Linked DNA regions of Homo sapiens: all the other regions are linked to region 2. The links are contacts of gene promoters, found by promoter capture Hi-C in blood cells and fetal thymus (Javierre and others, 2016). All regions are on one chromosome and are shown on one strand. The core of a region is centred on a gene start or on the middle of the fragment in contact, and the rest is flanking DNA. Distances in the headings are between cores, read along the strand shown.

Evidence for each region. The method cuts DNA at HindIII sites, captures the fragments that hold promoters and counts their contacts. A CHiCAGO score of 5 or more calls a contact.
Region 1: a contact is called between a fragment that was not itself captured here and the fragment with the promoter of ABCA8 in region 2, in 1 of 17 cell types (M0 macrophages). The highest score is 5.0, in M0 macrophages.
Region 3: a contact is called between a fragment that was not itself captured here and the fragment with the promoter of ABCA8 in region 2, in 2 of 17 cell types (monocytes and M2 macrophages). The highest score is 7.2, in monocytes.

What each region holds. Positions count from the first base shown.
Region 1 is chr17:69,252,038-69,255,096 of GRCh38, reverse strand. ABCA5 (ATP binding cassette subfamily A member 5) reads left to right here. Exons shown (of 39, transcript NM_172232.4): 32 at 607-782; 33 at 1,228-1,303; 34 at 1,430-1,524. Among named protein-coding and RNA genes, the nearest start is that of PRO1804, 19 kb to the right of the region's middle. The HindIII fragment of the contact is 567 bases long and covers 1,121-1,687 here.
Region 2 is chr17:68,953,947-68,956,806 of GRCh38, reverse strand. It overlaps ABCA8 (ATP binding cassette subfamily A member 8), which reads left to right and starts at 1,415. Exons shown (of 40, transcript NM_001288985.2): 1 at 1,415-1,588. The HindIII fragment of the contact is 10,640 bases long and covers 1-2,860 here.
Region 3 is chr17:69,218,476-69,221,475 of GRCh38, reverse strand. ABCA10 (ATP binding cassette subfamily A member 10) reads left to right here. Exons shown (of 39, transcript NM_001377321.1): 6 at 1,705-1,931. Among named protein-coding and RNA genes, the nearest start is that of ABCA10, 8.8 kb to the left of the region's middle. The HindIII fragment of the contact is 6,702 bases long and covers 1-3,000 here.

The DNA.
Region 1 (3,059 bases), core at 155-2,654, 300 kb before region 2:
TTTCCTGGAAAATGCCAGGCATACTCTTTTCTTTGGGTTTTTGCCCAAGATGTTTTCTTTGTTTGGCTATACCTTATACCCTAGAAATACATATACTAAATTCACTTACCTCTTTGGCTCAAATGTCACCTTCCAGTGAAGCTCCCTGATCATTAGAATTACATCTTGCTTTTTCATCCAACTCTGTATTACCCTTTCTGACCAAGTCTCTGAACTCTGACTTAGCTTTATATGTCCTTCCATCATCAAACATCAAAAAGGAGTAAAACATCTGGGCGGGTGCAGTGGCTCATTCCTGTAATCCCAGCACTTTGGGAGGCTGAGGCAGGAGGATCACTTGAGCTCAGGAATTCAAGACTAGCCTGGGCAACGTAGTGAGACATCTTCCCTCCTAAAATTCAAAAAAGAAAAAAGCAATAGCCAGGCATGGTGGCACATGTTTGTAGTCTCAGTTACTTAGTGATAATAATAATAATGACAATAAAGGAGTACAAATCTGACTTGATATTAGTCTGGCTGTAGGAAGGGGTTTTAATTAATGTACTTGCCACTTCCTTCACAGTGTAAATTAAGCAAAATAATAAAAATTGGTTTGTGTTTCTATAGGTATTTTTAGGAGATTATTCTTCAGAGACAAGTGAAGATGATGATTCACTGAAGTGTATGGGTTACTGTCCTCAGATAAACCCTTTGTGGCCAGATACTACATTGCAGGAACATTTTGAAATTTATGGAGCTGTCAAAGGAATGAGTGCAAGTGACATGAAAGAAGTCATAAGTCGGTAAAATAATTGTCTTTAGATTCCTTTTGTTACTTAGAGGAAAGGTTTGCATTTCATATTTTTAAAATTTCATAACAAGCATTTCTGTGGACAATGATTTTTATAGAAAATGTTTATTACTTTTTCATATATTCTTTATGATATATGAAAATATACTGATAGCTGTAAATTATGATAGTTATAAAAAGGTCATTTTTTAATTTCTAGTTACAGGATAAATATACCTATAGATATCATGAAACTTATTTTAATTCAAAGTGAACCATTTTATCAAGATATTAATTTATTTAAAATGATGTAAATTGGAGACTTTTGCCCTTACCTACTTATAATAAGCTTCGACTAAGTAACTATTCTAGAGAAAACAACATCAGGGATCACACCCAGTTGGTATTTGTGTTTATATATATCATGGTATTCTCATTTTGTATTGTTCATTTTGCAGAATAACACATGCACTTGATTTAAAAGAACATCTTCAGAAGACTGTAAAGAAACTACCTGCAGGAATCAAACGAAAGGTACTTTCATTAAACACCAAATAATGCCTGTATTTTTATTGATAGTTTAGTACCTGATATTGTCTTGATAGATTCCTTATAGTGAACCTTTGTTAATTTCCCACCCATCTTTTTCTTTCCATGTAGTTGTGTTTTGCTCTAAGTATGCTAGGGAATCCTCAGATTACTTTGCTAGATGAACCATCTACAGGTATGGATCCCAAAGCCAAACAGCACATGTGGTGAGTATGGTACTTGTGACACAGTACATGATACTTTAGAATAGAACAGTTTCTTTTATTATAATAGTTTAATGTTAGTTATATGTACATCTTGATTTTAAATCCTATTCAAACGATACACTAGTAATTAAAAATTAAATAGATTTAGAGATTTCCTTAAGCTTTTAAAACTTTGCATATTTTTCATGAAGTGTTCATAATATTTTACATATTCCGAAACAGAAATAAGCATGAGTCATTATTAAGATAAAGAGTTCTAGTGTTCTGAATAGTTTTTAAGTTTTTTTCTAGTCATTTAGCATACAAATGATCTTTTCCATAATAATAGTGTCTTAAATTTATGTTGAGACTCTTTCTAGGACAGTCATGCATTGCCTAATGACAGAGATACATTCTGAGAAAGGTGATGTTGTCGTTGTGCAAACATAATAGAGTGTACTTATATAAATCTCTGGGTGGTTATAGCCTACTACACACCTAGACTATATGGTATAGCCTATTACTCCTAGGCTATAAATCTGTAGAGCATGTCACTGCACTGAATACTGTAGGCAGTTGTAACACAATGGTATTTGTGTATCTAGATGTATCTAAACACAGAAAAGATACATTATAAAAGTATTATAATCTTATGGAATCACTGTTGGAAATGTGTTTCATCATTGACTGAAATGTCATTATGCAGTGCCTGTAAAGTACTAATTAGTTGAACAACTCTTTTTTTTTTTTTTTTTTTGAGTCAGAGTCTTGTTCTGTTGACCAAGCTGGAGTGCAGTGGTGCCGTCTTGGCTTACTGCAACCTCTGCTTCCCAGGCTGAAGCGATTCTCCTGCCTCAGCCTTCCAAGTACCTGGGACTACAGGCAAGAGCCACCAAGCCCGGCTAATTTTTTGTATTTTTGGTAGAGACAGGGTTTCACCATGTTGGCCAGGCTGGTCCCGAACTCCAGACCTCAGGTGATCCGCCCCCTTCGGCCTCCCAAACTGCTGGGATTACAGGTGTGAGGCACAGTGCCTGGCCTTGAACAACTCTTTAAGCCTCAACTTCCATGTCTATAAAATGTAAGGTTTGGTTTGGATGCATGTTACGGTTTTCTTATGATTCAAAGCCTGTTTTGGTTATAACATGAAAAGGCATCAATTTTAAAATTTATTTGTTGTCATACTTTTAGCCCATATTAACATTTGAAATCATAGATTTTTTTTTTCCATTTGACAAGCTTTCAAAATGAAGGGAAAATAAATTAGAATATAAAAGTCATGGCCTGGCGCAGTGGCTCACGCCTGTAATCCCAGCACTTTGGGAGGCTGAGGCAGCAGACCACGAGGTCAGGAGATCGAGACCATCCTGGCTAACACGGTGAAACCCCGTCTCTATTAAAAATACAAAAAAAAATTAGCCGGGTGTGGTGGCAGGCACCTGTAGTCCCAGCTACTCAGGAGGCTGAGGTAGGAGAATGGTGTGAACCTGGGAGGTGGAGCTTGCAGTGAGCCGAGATCGGGCCACTTCTCTCCAGCCTGGGGGACAGAGCGAGAC
Region 2 (2,860 bases), core at 166-2,665:
CCAGAGAGAAAAGAAGCAAATAACAAAATGGCAGATCTGATTTTAAAAATCAATAGCTACATAAAATGAAAATAATTTAAACACACCCATTAAAAGATGTGCATTGTCAAATTGGATTTTAAAAACCAAACTCATGACTCTATTATATGCCATCTACAAGAAACTCACTTGAAATACAATTTAGAGCTGGGTATAGTGGCATGTATCTGTAGTTTCAGCTACTCAGGAGTCTGAGATGGGAAGATCACTTGAACCCAGGAGTTCAAGTCCAGCCTTGGCAACATAGCAAGACCATCATCTTAAAAAAATAATAACAAACACAGACGCACACACACACATACACACACACGCATACACATATAATATGAATGTGATGTTTGGCAGGGCCAACAGAATTGAGATCATAACTGCCACTCTGAAAGCATATAGTGTGTGTGTGTGTGTGTGTGTGTGTAGATAAAAATAAACGGATGAAAACAAAATACCACGAAAACAATAATCACAGGAAAGTAAGAATGGCTATATTATTAATATGAAACAAAGTAGACTTTAGAACACAAAAGTTACTAGAGATAAAGATTAACATTACATAATGATAAAAGGGTCAATTCACCAAGAAGACATAACAATTCCAAATGTTGCAAAATACATCAGGCAAAACATGATAGTTTTAAAGGGAGAAATTTGAAAGTCCCTAAGTTTTGTTAAAATCTTCAACATTCCTCTCTTAGTAATCAACAGAACTAGGAGACAGAAAATTAGGAAAAATATAGAAAAAACTGAACAATATCATCAACCAACTAAATGTAATAGATATTATATAATATTCCACTCAACACCAAAAAACTATACAACTTTTCAAGTGCCTATGGAATATCTGCCAAGATAGATCATATCCTGGGTCATCAAATAAGCCTTAACAAATTTGACATACAAAATATTTTTTCTGAGTATAATTGAACTTCTGATTTAAAATTAAATCAATAACCAAAAGATAAGAAAATCTTCAGACACTTGGAAATTAAGCACATTTCTGATTAATCCGTGGGTCAAATAAATTGGAAAATAGTCTGAACTGAGTGAAAATGAAGCTGGGAAGCAGAGGAATGAAAATTTTGATTATCTAGGTAAAGCTGTCAATTAAGCAGACTAGAGCTCTGGGTAGAGAGAAGAGCTTTTCTCTGATTAAGCTGTTTACTTTCTCATGGCTTAAAGACAGCACTTTAAATTTTGGTATTAGCCACAATAATCTTGGACGTAAAAGAGAAATTGCTCCCTATAATATGATATAGCCAGGCAACCCAGTATAAATGCCACTGCTCTGCAGGAACTGGCCGAATATCAATGAGAAGACAAACAGTCCAAGCATGATGACGTGAATGTGATGTTTGGCAGGGCCAACAGAATTGAGATCATAACCTCCACTCTGAAAGCAGTCTTCACAGAAACTTTTCACAGAAGTCAAATAGTTAAAGCAAATTCTAGATACATGGTAGAGACCAGGAGAAAATATGAATAACTTTCTTCTAAACAAGGAGCTCAGTGGATAAACCATACCTCTAGATTCCTTGCTTCCATTTTCCCAGAAGTAAGTTCACTGTATTTTTTCTGTTTTGTTTTGTATTTTGCTTTTGTGTGTGAGTTTGTTTCAGAGGTTTTGTCTTTTCTTATTCCTATCACAAAATTATAAATAAACCTTTATAAACTGAATGACAATCATCTATGCAGAAATTATTTTGAAAAATATTGGGCTACTTTAAAGATTTTATATCTGGTAATTAATATTAGATAAATAAAAACATTGAGTTAGAATGTTTTTTAAAAAATTATGCAAACATTATGTTGTTTTAAACATAACTGAGTGTAGAAATAAGTTTAAATTGGCTAAAAATTTTTTGTGAAGAGCTTAGAGTTTTAAGAATTGGGTTGGAAGACTGAGTTGTTTTTGAAGTTAAAGTTATCTACTTTGATTGCACAATAATGTAGGGCATTTTGGATAAGTGTTCTTCTGACTTTAAGACTGTTTACCAAGAGCACTTACAGAAATATTTTTATTGTTCCTATCGCTCACTCTTAGTCTATAAGAATTTTAGAAATGTAAGATTCTTTCTAGGATCTTTTACTCGTTGGATACAGTGAGTTGAATCAGAATGTGAAATATGTAGCTTCTCTTTACCACAATGTTATTTAAAATGTACATTGGTAAAAAGAATTTTCATACTCCTATAGTGAATACATGTTGTTCTGAATTTTACAACAGTATAAGAGGATAAAAATGAGTCATTACAATTTGAGACTATTTGCCATATGTATAATAAAGTATTCATGTTTTTGCTAGCCTTTACATAAACTGCAGAACATACAAAAATTGGAAAGAAACAAAGTTGGCAATAATACTTTACGATGGAAGATATAAGGGATTGGAGTCAGACTGGAGTTTGCATGCTACCTAAGACTGTAGCTGATTCCATAGTGAGGAGATCATCCTCTTGGCCAATGTCTATTAACTTCGCCAGTGAATTATGCATTTCTGTAGAGAAGCTGTGATATATTTGGGCTTGTGCATGAGGTGGAGTGTAGGGAAACATCACACTCTGGGGACTGTTGTGGGGTGGGGGGAGGGGGGAGGGATAGCATTGGGAGATATACCTAATGCTAGATGACGAGTTAGTGGGTGCAGCGCACCAGCGTGGCACATGTATACATATGTAACTAACCTGCACAATGTGTACATGTACCCTAAAACTTAAAGTATAATAATAAAACGAAAAAAAAAAAAGAAATTCCTCCTGTACAGAGCTTGCATTGGCGGCAGCTGCTTTAAGAACCCAGAAACTTTTGCCCTCTCTGTAGGCTAGCT
Region 3 (3,000 bases), core at 94-2,593, 260 kb before region 2:
TTCAATCTCTGCCTTTCTGCTAGATTCTTCTCTTCAGGATTTAAAATTAATTTCTTCACTTATGGTCAAGACCTTCCTTTATCCACTTTCCTCTTCACACAACTACCCTAACTTCCTTCTATTAATGGCTAAGTTTCTTGAAAGGGTTGTCCTCCTTTGACTCAACTCAACTCAATATTATCTATCCCTACCACACCATCAAAAGGGCTTTTTCTAAGGTAAATAACAACTTCCATGTCAATTAACAGCTTCTTTATTCCTCACCTTACTTGATATTTCAACTAAATAACATAGATTCACCTGATTTCCCTTCTCCATTTCTAGCCTTTCCCTCTCAGTCTTCTTGCCAACTTATCTCCCCTTACACTCCTACATCTTTCTATCTGTAGTTCCACAAAGTTCTATCTCAGGCATCTCTTTCTATCCCATATGTTTTCTCTAGATGGTCTCATTTATTCCCGTACTTCTCATTATAATTTATATGCTGATGACTCCAAGAACTCTAACTTGTAGACTAGCAACATTTTTCTGTAAAGGACCACACAGTAAATATTTTAGGCTCTGGGGGCCAAATGTGTTGTAACTGTTCACCTCTGCTGTTGTAGTATGAAAGCCGCTGTAGATAACACAAACAAATGAGTGTGCCTGTGTTCAATAAAATGTTATATACAAAAACAGGTGGTGGGTCAGATTTGGTCTGGGAACTAAAGTTTGCTGACCTCTAAAGGAGCTAGGGACTAAAAGAGCTAGACGTCTGCTCTAGCTCCATGTATCTGACTGTGTGCTGGATACCTCTACTTTGATGTCTCAAGCAATTCAAACTTAGTATGCGCAAAAATGAACATGGATGTTTTTCTGTAAATGTGACTGAGTCTTATAAAATTTTCCCTATCTCAGTGAATGCTAAAACCACCTAGCTGAGTAAAAGGAACTGGGGATTATCAGAGAAAATTTTCTCTGTCTCACTCATCACATCCAATCTTTTACCTGGCCTCTTATTTCTAAGCTCAAATCTATGTACTTCAGTTCTGCCACCTGCACAAGGGCACATCTTTATCATATCTTGCCTAAACTATGGGAGTGGTTTATTTCTTCAGCCTTATCTACAGTCTATTTATTTGTTTTTGTGGCAGGAACCTCTTTTCTGTGCTCCAACGCACTATACACCTTCTTTCCTTTTCATATACTGTTTACTCTGCTCACAGTTTTCTTCTCCATCCTCAACCACCCCCCCTCCCCCAATCTTTGTTTAGGAAAGATCACAGCCTTCAACACTCAGTAAAAATGTCACTTCTTTAGGGAAGCCTTTCTTGATTTTCCTACACTTTTCTTTGAACATAGTTGCTCAATTGTAACTAAACAATTTATTATGCAATGATTTATTTAATATCTCTCCTTTCTTCTGCTGCGCTACAAAATGTAAATCTCTATGAGAATGAAGAGTGTTTCTGTTTGAATTGCTGCTGTTTCCCCATTACGTAGCACAGTATATTATGCATGACAGACCTTCAGTAATTTCTCAAATGACTCTTATAATTAATGTCAATTGGTATCAAAAGTTATTAAGATTGTTCTGATATTAATAGTTCATACTTTAAAATGATGAGAATATGTAAATATTGAAATCGAAAATAAAAAGTGTATAGTTTTCTAATATATTTTGTCTATAGTTCACATAATAAATTTGCTAATGTCCCAATTTAGGTCACAACAAATCATTCTGTAATGGAGGAGTTGACATCAGTTATTGGAATAAATATGAAGATACCACCTTTCATTTCTAAGGGAGAAATTATGAATGAATGGTTTCATTTTACTTGCTTAGTTTCTTTCTCTTCTTTTATATACTTTGCATCATTAAATGTTGCAAGGGAAAGAGGAAAATTTAAGAAACTGATGACAGTGATGGGTCTCCGAGAGTCAGCATTCTGGTAAGTTAAGTTGCTACTTTACTGTATATCATACATTAATTATTAGAGAAACTAACTAGGTTCTTAAAAAATTGGACGCACTCACAAGTTTTCTTGCACGTATTCAATTTAATCACCTTACTTGCATTAGAGTTTAAGATGCTTGCAGTAGAAAGTAAGTAAGGATTGTGCTTATGTTTCCCTGAGTTGAAGAAAAATATGTGATCATTACATATTGCCCGAAAAATGCCGCATAAAAACCACCCCAAACCCCACGACCTCAAGCAGCAATTATTTATTCTTTCTCATTTGTCTGCAGTATGGGTGGACTTTGGCAGATCTAGTCTGGGCTTGGCCAGGCTTGGATTCAAGGTACAGGTTAGATCCAGGTGTTCTTCCTGTGACTCACTTCCTTCTTGGGCCAGTAGGCTAGCTGGCCATGGTCTTCTCATTCAATCACAGAAACACAAGGGGGCAAGTCTCTCTGCACAAGCACATTTCAAGCTCCTGCTCACATCATATATAATAAAATCTCATTAAAGTAAGTCACATGGACAGAACTAAAGTCAAGAGGGGAAGAAGTGTGTTCTGCCCACCATGAGGTCAAAGCTAGTCAAAGTGACAACCTCACATTTAGTGACATGGGAAATTATGCTGCTTTTCATAACAGTGAGGAGCAGAAAAAAGTTCAAATAATTTTGGGCAATAAAGGAATTTACCACAGTGTCACTGAGGCCCGGTCACATAGTCTGTAAAAATGTTATTTGGTTGGAATTCATCAAACGGTATCAGGATTAAATGAGGCAATATGTTTAAATCACACAGCACAAACAGTGTTCGGTGTTTGTTAGTGCATGGTAAAAGACATCTCTCTCCATCTATATAGTCTATGCATTTATATATATATCTATGCTCTCCATCTATATAGTCTATGCATTTATATATATATCTATGCATTCATCCATTCCTTTAAGTATTGTCCCTTTTCCCCTAGACTTTGAGATAGTATACAATTATAGTAATAAATATTTAATAATAATGAGGTATTATAGTCTAATAATTATAGAAATAATAATGAACATTGTTTAAG